Linked DNA regions of Homo sapiens: regions 1 and 3 are each linked to region 2. Evidence: promoter capture Hi-C in 16 types of primary human blood cells and fetal thymus (Javierre and others, 2016). All regions are on one chromosome and are shown on one strand. The core of a region is centred on a gene start or on the middle of the fragment in contact, and the rest is flanking DNA. Distances in the headings are between cores, read along the strand shown. Region 1 holds the start of RABGAP1 (RAB GTPase activating protein 1). Region 2 holds the start of NDUFA8 (NADH:ubiquinone oxidoreductase subunit A8). Region 3 overlaps RC3H2 (ring finger and CCCH-type domains 2).

Region 1 (2,700 bases), core at 9-2,508, 780 kb before region 2:
CCCTCCTTAGTACCTAAGCTTTTTTTCCCAACTACTTTTCAAACATCAGTTTAATGTTACAAACACAATTCCATTCACCTTCCGTTGTTTTTTTGTTTTGTTTTGTTTTGTTTTTTGTTTCCGAAACAAAAACAGCTGGAAACTCACTTATTGTGTACTTACTACTCCAGGCACACGTTTGTAAATACATGTGAATGGAAATATAAAAGGAATTGTGAAACCCTGTCCCTAACAGGTTTTTTTCCCTGACAAAAAGCCAACGAAAGTCAAAAGACCTCAAATTCAAGTTGGAACATGATTTAAAACTAACGGAGCACTAGTAGCGGGAACACTAGCAGCATGATCACTTAACACGGTCTCCTAGGACATTTGTTTCCAAAAAAGAATTCTCGAGTAACCAAAGGTATGCAGATGCGTGAAACGCAGGAGCAGATGATAAACAGTCTGGATGCAGAAGAGCAGAGACCAAAGTACTACCAGGCAATGGACAGCGAACTCCTGGAAGTCTTGAGGTTATCCTTTGGCTCAACACGTAAAACCCTAAGGGTGCGGATAATCAAAAGACACAGCGATGAGGTACTGGGGTAGCTGCTTCAAGGAGATGAGAAGACTGGGATGCCAAGAACGCTTTAATTGCAGACGGGGAAATGAGACTGAAAGACCAACCTGAGATGGCAAAGCGACAGTGAAAACTAGCAAGTCTTTGAAATTTAGGCGCAGCCCAGGACAGCCTGAGGCCCAGGCTAGCTTAAGTCACAGATACAGGCCTAGTGAGCAATGGGGAGAAACTGAGGCGGGGGGGAGCGGCTGGATTCCCAAATAGGACCAAGCATAAAACATTAAAGTCAAGACACAAACCGGCTTTGCTGGGGGACCAGAGGGAGGGCCAAAAACGCAAGACTCAGAAGACCGGCACCCACACAGACAGGGGGAACCGGTTTGGGCAGGGGCTCCCAGAGCGGCCCAGCCTGCGCATGCGCCCTCTCCCCTCCGTCGCAGTTCCCCCTCCCCCCAATCACGGCTCCCCTCAGAACTCGGCCCGTCGAGGGAGCTGAGAGCAGCTCCACTGGCCCGACCCCGCGGGATGAGAAGACAGCTTGGCTCCCCGCAGGGGCCGTCGGAAAATACCCCTGGGGTTGGTAGGTAGGAGGGTGGGAGGAGGAGGAGGGGAAACACGGCCCTACCCGACCTGCCGTCTCCTCCTCCGCCGCCCGCCGCTCGCCGTCCCGGAGGCTCCGCCGCCTGGGCCTCCCAAACCGCCCTGTCCCCGCCCCCCCACCCCTTTACTCACGTGAGAGCGACTTCTTCCGCCCTCCGCCCCGCCCCCTGCCCCGTCTCATAGGTCTGCGACCATGACGAGCGACCCTATTGGCCCAATACCGGGAAGCGAGGCGGAGCTTCCTCTTCTCCGAGCCCCACCTGGGCTTTCAGCCCGCCTCAGGACTGTGCGCCTGCGCGAAGTGCACTGGCTGTGAGCTGGACCTGGGCTGTCTTGTGTATTTGGAGTTGGACAGCCAACTACGTGACTGCAGCCGGGACTGGGGACGATGGAAGCGGACTGGGTAGTACCTGTTGAGCCTAACAAAGGGTACAACCCCAGAGTACTGGTGCTTGAGCAAGGAATCCCCCTGCTCACCTTTCATGTGCAAGTCCTGTTTGAAAATCAGTACTTCACAGTGTAATAAAATTCACCTGGCATTTACTGAGGGCGCACGGTGTGTCAGGGATTGTGATGGTTCTTTATGTGGCTATCTCATTTCAGCTTCACCACAAACCCGTCAGAATGGTACCATTTTTCTCCTTTTATAAAGTAATTTAGCTTTAGTTACAGAATCCAGTCTAGAAGTCAAAACTTCCGACTGCCAAGTCCTAAAACCACTGGTACAACACAGCTGCCTAAAGGCATTTAAGGCACACAAGAGGACAGAAATGGACAAGGTTACATCAGATTGTGACTCAAAGATGAGATTTTTATTTAAAAATCATTCAAAGGTGAAACACAGCAACAGCAATATAATGAAGTTTAAAGTCCCTGTCCTCAATGAATGTACAATGCAGTTGGGAACAAAAACAATGATTATTAAAGTGCTAGTTAAGTCTTATTTTTAAAGAGACCCTATCTTGTCCAGGATGCAGTGCTGTGGCTATTCACAGACGATCATATCACACTCCACCCTCGAACTCCTGGGCTCAAGCTATCCTACCACCTCAGCCTCCTGAGTAGCTGGGACTGTACATAGGCATGCACCACTGCACCTGGCTCATAAGACTTGATAATTTATAAAATAATTCTACAGCCTCTTCCTTACTCTTCCCCTTTATTTATTCCAACTGGCATATGCTCTTTTCCTGGTGAGTGAGTCGTCTACAGTGTTTTCTGGTGGATAATGCATCCCGATCAACCAGAGAAAAAACAGTGAGAAAAATCTGTGTTCTGTTGCAATCCCTCTGTGATTTGTCTAATACAATAGATGTGGGTGTACCCCTGCAGAAAAATAGTTTCGCTTCCTTTCTCCTTATACAGTTACAAAATATCCATTTCAAGATATTCAAAGAATAAAGTATTAGGGAGAAAGTAAAATCCCCTGAACTCCCAACAAAACCACTTTTAACGTTTTGGTGCCCATACTTTCATGTATTTCTTGATTCATGGACACCCCAAATATTTATGTAAATCTTAACATACATTTTTAAATAAAA
Region 2 (2,700 bases), core at 35-2,534:
GTGGCCACCTCTGTGTTTCCTCTGCTTCTCTCTACTACAGCTCTTACCACACTGAATCGCAGTTATCTGTTATGTCTACTTGTCGCATCATGTTTGAATGAACTTTCTGAAGACAGGGATTGTGCCCAGAGTCAATTACAGGGCCTGGTACTCGGTAGCCACTCAACATTGTTGAATTGCTGGGCACGGTGGCTCATGCAAGAGGATCACTTGAGCCCAGGAGTATGAGACCAGCTTGGACAACATAGCAAGATGCCGTCTCTACAAAAGGCGTTGAAAAATTTGCTGGGGGTAGTGGTGCACACCGGTAGTCTCAGCTACTTGGGAGGCTGAGGTGGGAAGATTGTTTGAGCCTAGGGGGTTGAGGCTGCAGTAAGCAGTGAACAGGCCACTGCACTCCAGCCAGGGCAACAGAGCGAGATCTTGTCTGAAAATAAAACAAAAACGAGAGAGAAAGAAAGAAAGAGAGGAAGGTAGGAAGGAAGGAAGGAAGGAAAAAAGGAAGGAAGGAAGGAAGGAAAAGAAAAGAAAAAAAAACTGTTGAATTGTTTTTTACTACTAGTCCACTACAGTGATTTGTGTATATAATCCTCTATAATAATCCCTAGATCGTGAACTCCTCCTGGAAGGAAGCGACCGTGTAGATTCAGATTAGCCAGTCTCTCTTCCCTAATCTTCGTGTTTGTTTTTATAGCATTTACCATTATCTGTAATTATTTTATCACTTATTTGTTTATTGGCAATACATCTCCAACTGGATTATAAACTCCATAAGAGCAAGGATCTTGACATTTTAAATATTCTTATTCCTATGTTTAAAACTGGCAGATAGCACACACACACAGTCAATGCACACACACATATAAGTATATATGGAATGAATGCATCTTAGCTTTGCTGCTTATTAGATATGGTCCTTGAAAAAATTACTCGGGCAAGTTTGTGAAAGTGCCTGGCACAAGGTGTTTCGCAGAAGCAAAAAGCCGTCTTTTTCCAGTCACAGCTATTCAAGGTATAGTAAGTGAATCAAATGAGCCCCTTACCTCCCATCTACATATTCCCCGATATATTTGCTCCCTGTGTACTCCATGGCGCCTGTTTTTAGCTTCCAGCTGTTAGGATCCGGAGTCTCAGTGGATACGGCATCACTATGACAACCTGGAGGGGTGGGCGGAGCCGAATCGAAGCCCCACCCCGCTGGAGGCTGAAAAGTTCTTGGTATTGCGCACGCTCCCTCGCTCGTGGTTGGGCAGGGCAATACGCCTGCGTGTTGCCGGATGCGCATGCGCAGGCGCCGTGTGGCACTCGGCGGTCGAAAGGGGAGTTCAAGGAGACGGGGGCGACGCGGCTGAGGGCTTCTCGTCGGGGTCGGGGCTGCAGCCGTCATGCCGGGGATAGTGGAGCTGCCCACTCTAGAGGAGCTGAAAGTAGATGAGGTGAGGCTATCCGGAGGACAGGCAAGGGAGACATGGGGCTGCGGCTTCTCGGGCCTGGGCCTAGCCCCCCTTGGGCTCCGCGGATCCTGGGACCCGGGCCCCCCTCCCCAGTCCTCCAACGCATATACAGGTCGACCCCCGGAGGTCCCCTCCGCAGCTTTGGGAGTCGCCTCCCCTCTCTACCCCACCCTGTCGCATCTTGCAGTGGCTCTAGAATCCTCCCCCTTTCGCCCTCCACAGCGACCTATTTCTCCTTCCGTGAATAATAGTGATACATTTTATTAAGCACCAACCAGTCATTTTACTTAGCTTATGTCGCTTAATCCTCAAACTTGCATGCGAGGTGAGTATACAACCCTAGGGGCTCACAGTCGAGGGAGACGGTCATCTACCTTAAAGTGGTATCACCGGTGCAGAGTGCATAGAGTGGGGTGACGAAGCCGCGGGAAAATGAGACAATATTGGAGCGTGCATCTACTCACAGCCTTGGGAAGGTGTTTGGTAACAGGACCCATTTAAAGCATTCGTTTATTCAAGAGATATCATTTCAGTAATTAACGTGTACACATAACGCTGGAAGAGATATACTTCGTGCTTTCATGGACTTTACAATCCAGTAGGGAGACAGACACATAAAGAGGCAGTCACAGTACAATGTAGTTAGTGCTGTGAGGAGTGAAGTAGAAACATACCCTACTAATTATAGCTAACATGATCAAGTCCTTTCTAGATACCAGGCAGGATGCTAATTACTTTCCATGCATTAATTCATTGAATCCTCCCAGCAACACTATAAGGTAGGATATATATATATATACACACACATACACATATATATACACACACACAATTGGTGTGTATATATATATACCATATATATATATACACAATTGGTGTATATATATATATGTATATACCATATATATATACACACACACAATTGGTCATATATATATATATACACACACACACACAATTGGTCGTAGCGTTATAAATAAGGAATTAGTCCCCGAGAGTAGAAATGATTTGCCCAAGGTCACGGAGCTCGTAAGTAATAGAGCTGGAAGTGAACCCAAGTCTGATTTTAAAACCAATGCTTTTCCACTATATTATGGGTGAAAACTCACAAGAATGAGACGGCCTAGCAGAACTTGTGTGTTTAGGGAGCCAAGTACAGTTTGATGTGACCCTAGTGGTGGTGGTGGGAAGCAGCAGGTGCTGAGCCTGGAGAGGCAACTTGGGCTGAGATAGGACTTGGAAGCAG
Region 3 (2,700 bases), core at 194-2,693, 690 kb before region 2:
AAGAGCAACTCATTACTTCTTCAGAGAGAGGCCAATGCTTTGGCCATGCAACAGAAGTGGAATTCCCTGGATGAAGGCCGTCACCTTACCTTAAACCTTTTAAGCAAGGAAATTGAACTAAGAAATGGAGAGGTAAAGAAACTGAACCTTTCGGCTTCATGCTTAATGTATTTGTTTTCTGCTGCTGCATCTTGGTTATACCATTACTGAGTGCATTTTGGTGTGCCTATCTCTGATGGATGATTGATTGCTTTTAAAACTTATAACAGAAATAAAATTGTAATCCCAGATTTCTTAAATAATTCTTTAACTAGATCATCGGGATTTTTGTTTTTTTGAGATGGAATCTTGCTCTATCGCCTGGAGTGCAATGGCACGATCTTGGCTCACTGCAGCCTCTGGCTCTCAGGTTCAAGCGATTCTCCTGCCTCAGCTTCCCGAGTAGCTGGGATTACAGGCACCCACCACCATGCCCAGCTAATTTTTGTGTTTTTAGTAGAGACAGGGTTTCACCATGTTGGCTAAGCTGGTCTTGAACTCCTGACCTCAAGTGATCTGCTCGCCTCACCTTCCCAAAGTGCTAGGATTACAGGTGTGAGCCCCCGTGCCTGGCTGATCATTGGGATTTTTTACTTTAATTTAAAAGGGAAACCCCAGGTTCCACAGGTATAAAATCAGTATTTTTCTTTTTTTTTTTTTTTTTTTATTGATCATTCTTGGGTGTTTCTCACAGAGGGGGATTTGGCAGGGTCATAGGACAATAGTGGAGGGAAGGTCAGCAGATAAACAAGTGAACAAAGGTCTCTGGTTTTCCTAGGCAGAGGACCCTGCGGCCTTCCGCAGCGTTTGTGTCCCTGGGTACTTGAGATTAGGGAGTGGTGATGACTCTTAATGAGCATGCTGCCTTCAAGCATCTGTTTAACAAAGCACATCTTGCACCGCCCTTAAGCCATTTAACTCTGAGTGGACACAGCACATGTTTCAGAGAGCACAGGGTTGGAGGTAAGGTCACAGATCAACAGGATCCCAAGGCAGAAGAATTTTTCTTAGTACAGAACAAAATGAAAAGTCTCCCATGTCTACTTCTTTCTACACAGACACGGCTACCATCCGATTTCTCAATCTTTTCCCCACCTTTCCCCCCTTTCTATTCCACAAAACCGCCATTGTCATCATGGCCCGTTCTCAATGAGCTGTTGGGCACACCTCCCAGACGGGGTGGTGGCTGGGCAGAGGGGCTCCTCACTTCCCAGTAGGGGCGGCCGGGCAGAGGCGCCCCTCACCTCCCGGATGGGGCGGCTGGCCAGGCGGGGGGCTGACCCCCCCACCTCCCTCCCGGACGGGGCGGCTGGCCGGGCAGAGGGGCTCCTCACTTCCCAGTAGGGGCGGCAGGGCAGAGGCGCCCCTCACCTCCCGGACAGGGCGGCTGGCCGGGTTGGGAGCTGACCCCTCCACCTCCCTCCCGGTCAGGGCGGCTGGCCGGGCCGGGGGCTGACCCCCACACCTCCCTCCCGGACGGGGCGGCTGGCCGGGCGGGGGGCTGACCCCCCCACCTCCCTCCCGGACGGGGCGGCTGGCTAGGCAGAGGGGCTCCTCACTTCCCAGTAGGGGCGGCCGGGCAGAGGCGCCCCTCACCTCCCGGACGGGGCGGCTGGCCAGGCGGGGGGCTGACCCCCCCACCTCCCTCCCGGACGGGGCGGCTGCCGGGCGGAGACGCTCCTCACTTCCCAGACGGGGTGGCTGCCAGGCAGAGAGGCTCCTCACTTCTCAGACGGGGCGGCTGCCGGGCGGAGAGGCTCCTCACTTCTCATACGGGGCGGCTGCCGGGCGGAGGGTCTCCTCACTTCTCAGACGGGGCGGCCGGGCAGAGACGCTCCTCACCTCCCAGACGGGGTGGCGGCCGGGCAGAGGCATTCCTCACATCCCAGACAGGGCGGCGGGGCAGAGGCGCTCCCCACATCCCAGACGACGGGCGGCCGGGCAGAGACGCTCCTCACTTCCTAGATGTGATGGCGGCCGGGAAGAGGCGCTCCTCACTTCCCAGATGGGATGGCGGCCGGGCAGAGACGGTCCTCACTTTCCAGACTGGGCAGCCAGGCAGAGGGGCTCCTCACATCCCAGACGATGGGCGGCCAGGCAGAGACGCTCCTCACTTCCCAGACGGGGTGGCGGCCGGGCAGAGGCTGCAATCTCGGCTTTTTGGGAGGCCAAGGCAGGCGGCTGGGAGGTGGAGGTTGTAGCGAGCCGAGATCACGCCACTGCACTCCAGCCTGGGCGCCATTGAGCACTGAGTGAACCAGACTCCGTCTGCAATCCCGGCACCTCGGGAGGCCGAGGCTGGCAGATCACTCGTGGTTAGGAGCTGGAGACCAGCCCGGCCATCACAGCGAAACCCCGTCTCCACCAAAAAAATACGAAAACCAGTCAGGCGTGGCGGCGCGCGCCTGCAATTGCAGGCACTCTGCAGGCTGAGGCAGGAGAATCAGGCAGGGAGGTTGCAGTGAGCCGAGATGGCAGCAGTATAGTCCAGCTTCGGCTCGGCATGAGAGGGAGACCATGGAAAGAGAGGGAGAGGGAGACCATGGGGAGAGGGAGACCATGGGGAGAGGGAGAGGGAGAGGGAGAGCAAAATCAGTATTTTTCTTAGTTACAGAGTGATTATACAGAAGATGCAACAGATACTAAACCTGATAGGGATAT

What was found. The method cuts DNA at HindIII sites, captures the fragments that hold promoters and counts their contacts. A CHiCAGO score of 5 or more calls a contact.
Region 1: a contact is called between the fragment with the promoter of RABGAP1 here and the fragment with the promoter of NDUFA8 in region 2, in 3 of 17 cell types (total CD4 T cells, naive CD4 T cells and non-activated CD4 T cells). The highest score is 10.5, in total CD4 T cells.
Region 3: a fragment that was not itself captured here is called in contact with the fragment with the promoter of NDUFA8 in region 2 in 1 of 17 cell types (naive CD8 T cells); the score reaches 5.9 in naive CD8 T cells.

Annotation. Positions count from the first base shown.
Region 1 is chr9:122,939,578-122,942,277 of GRCh38, reverse strand. It overlaps RABGAP1 (RAB GTPase activating protein 1), which reads right to left and starts at 1,258. Exons shown (of 26, transcript NM_012197.4): 1 at 1,185-1,258. It overlaps LOC105379839 (a long non-coding RNA gene), which reads left to right and starts at 1,030. Exons shown (of 2, transcript XR_001746924.3): 1 at 1,030-1,139; 2 at 1,343-1,702. RefSeq lists silencers at 989-1,318, 1,329-1,488 and enhancers at 735-1,459, 1,649-1,718. The HindIII fragment of the contact is 5,356 bases long and covers 21-2,700 here.
Region 2 is chr9:122,158,363-122,161,062 of GRCh38, reverse strand. It overlaps NDUFA8 (NADH:ubiquinone oxidoreductase subunit A8), which reads left to right and starts at 1,284. Exons shown (of 4, transcript NM_014222.3): 1 at 1,284-1,436. The coding sequence starts at 1,386. It overlaps MORN5 (MORN repeat containing 5), which reads right to left and starts at 1,155. Exons shown (of 5, transcript NM_198469.4): 1 at 1,044-1,155. The coding sequence starts at 1,090. RefSeq lists an enhancer at 1,079-1,373. The HindIII fragment of the contact is 8,418 bases long and covers 1-2,700 here.
Region 3 is chr9:122,851,384-122,854,083 of GRCh38, reverse strand. It overlaps RC3H2 (ring finger and CCCH-type domains 2), which reads left to right. Exons shown (of 21, transcript NM_001100588.3): 18 at 1-132; 19 at 2,648-2,700. Among named protein-coding and RNA genes, the nearest start is that of PDCL, 24 kb to the right of the region's middle. RefSeq lists an enhancer at 1,947-2,700. The HindIII fragment of the contact is 6,549 bases long and covers 1-2,700 here.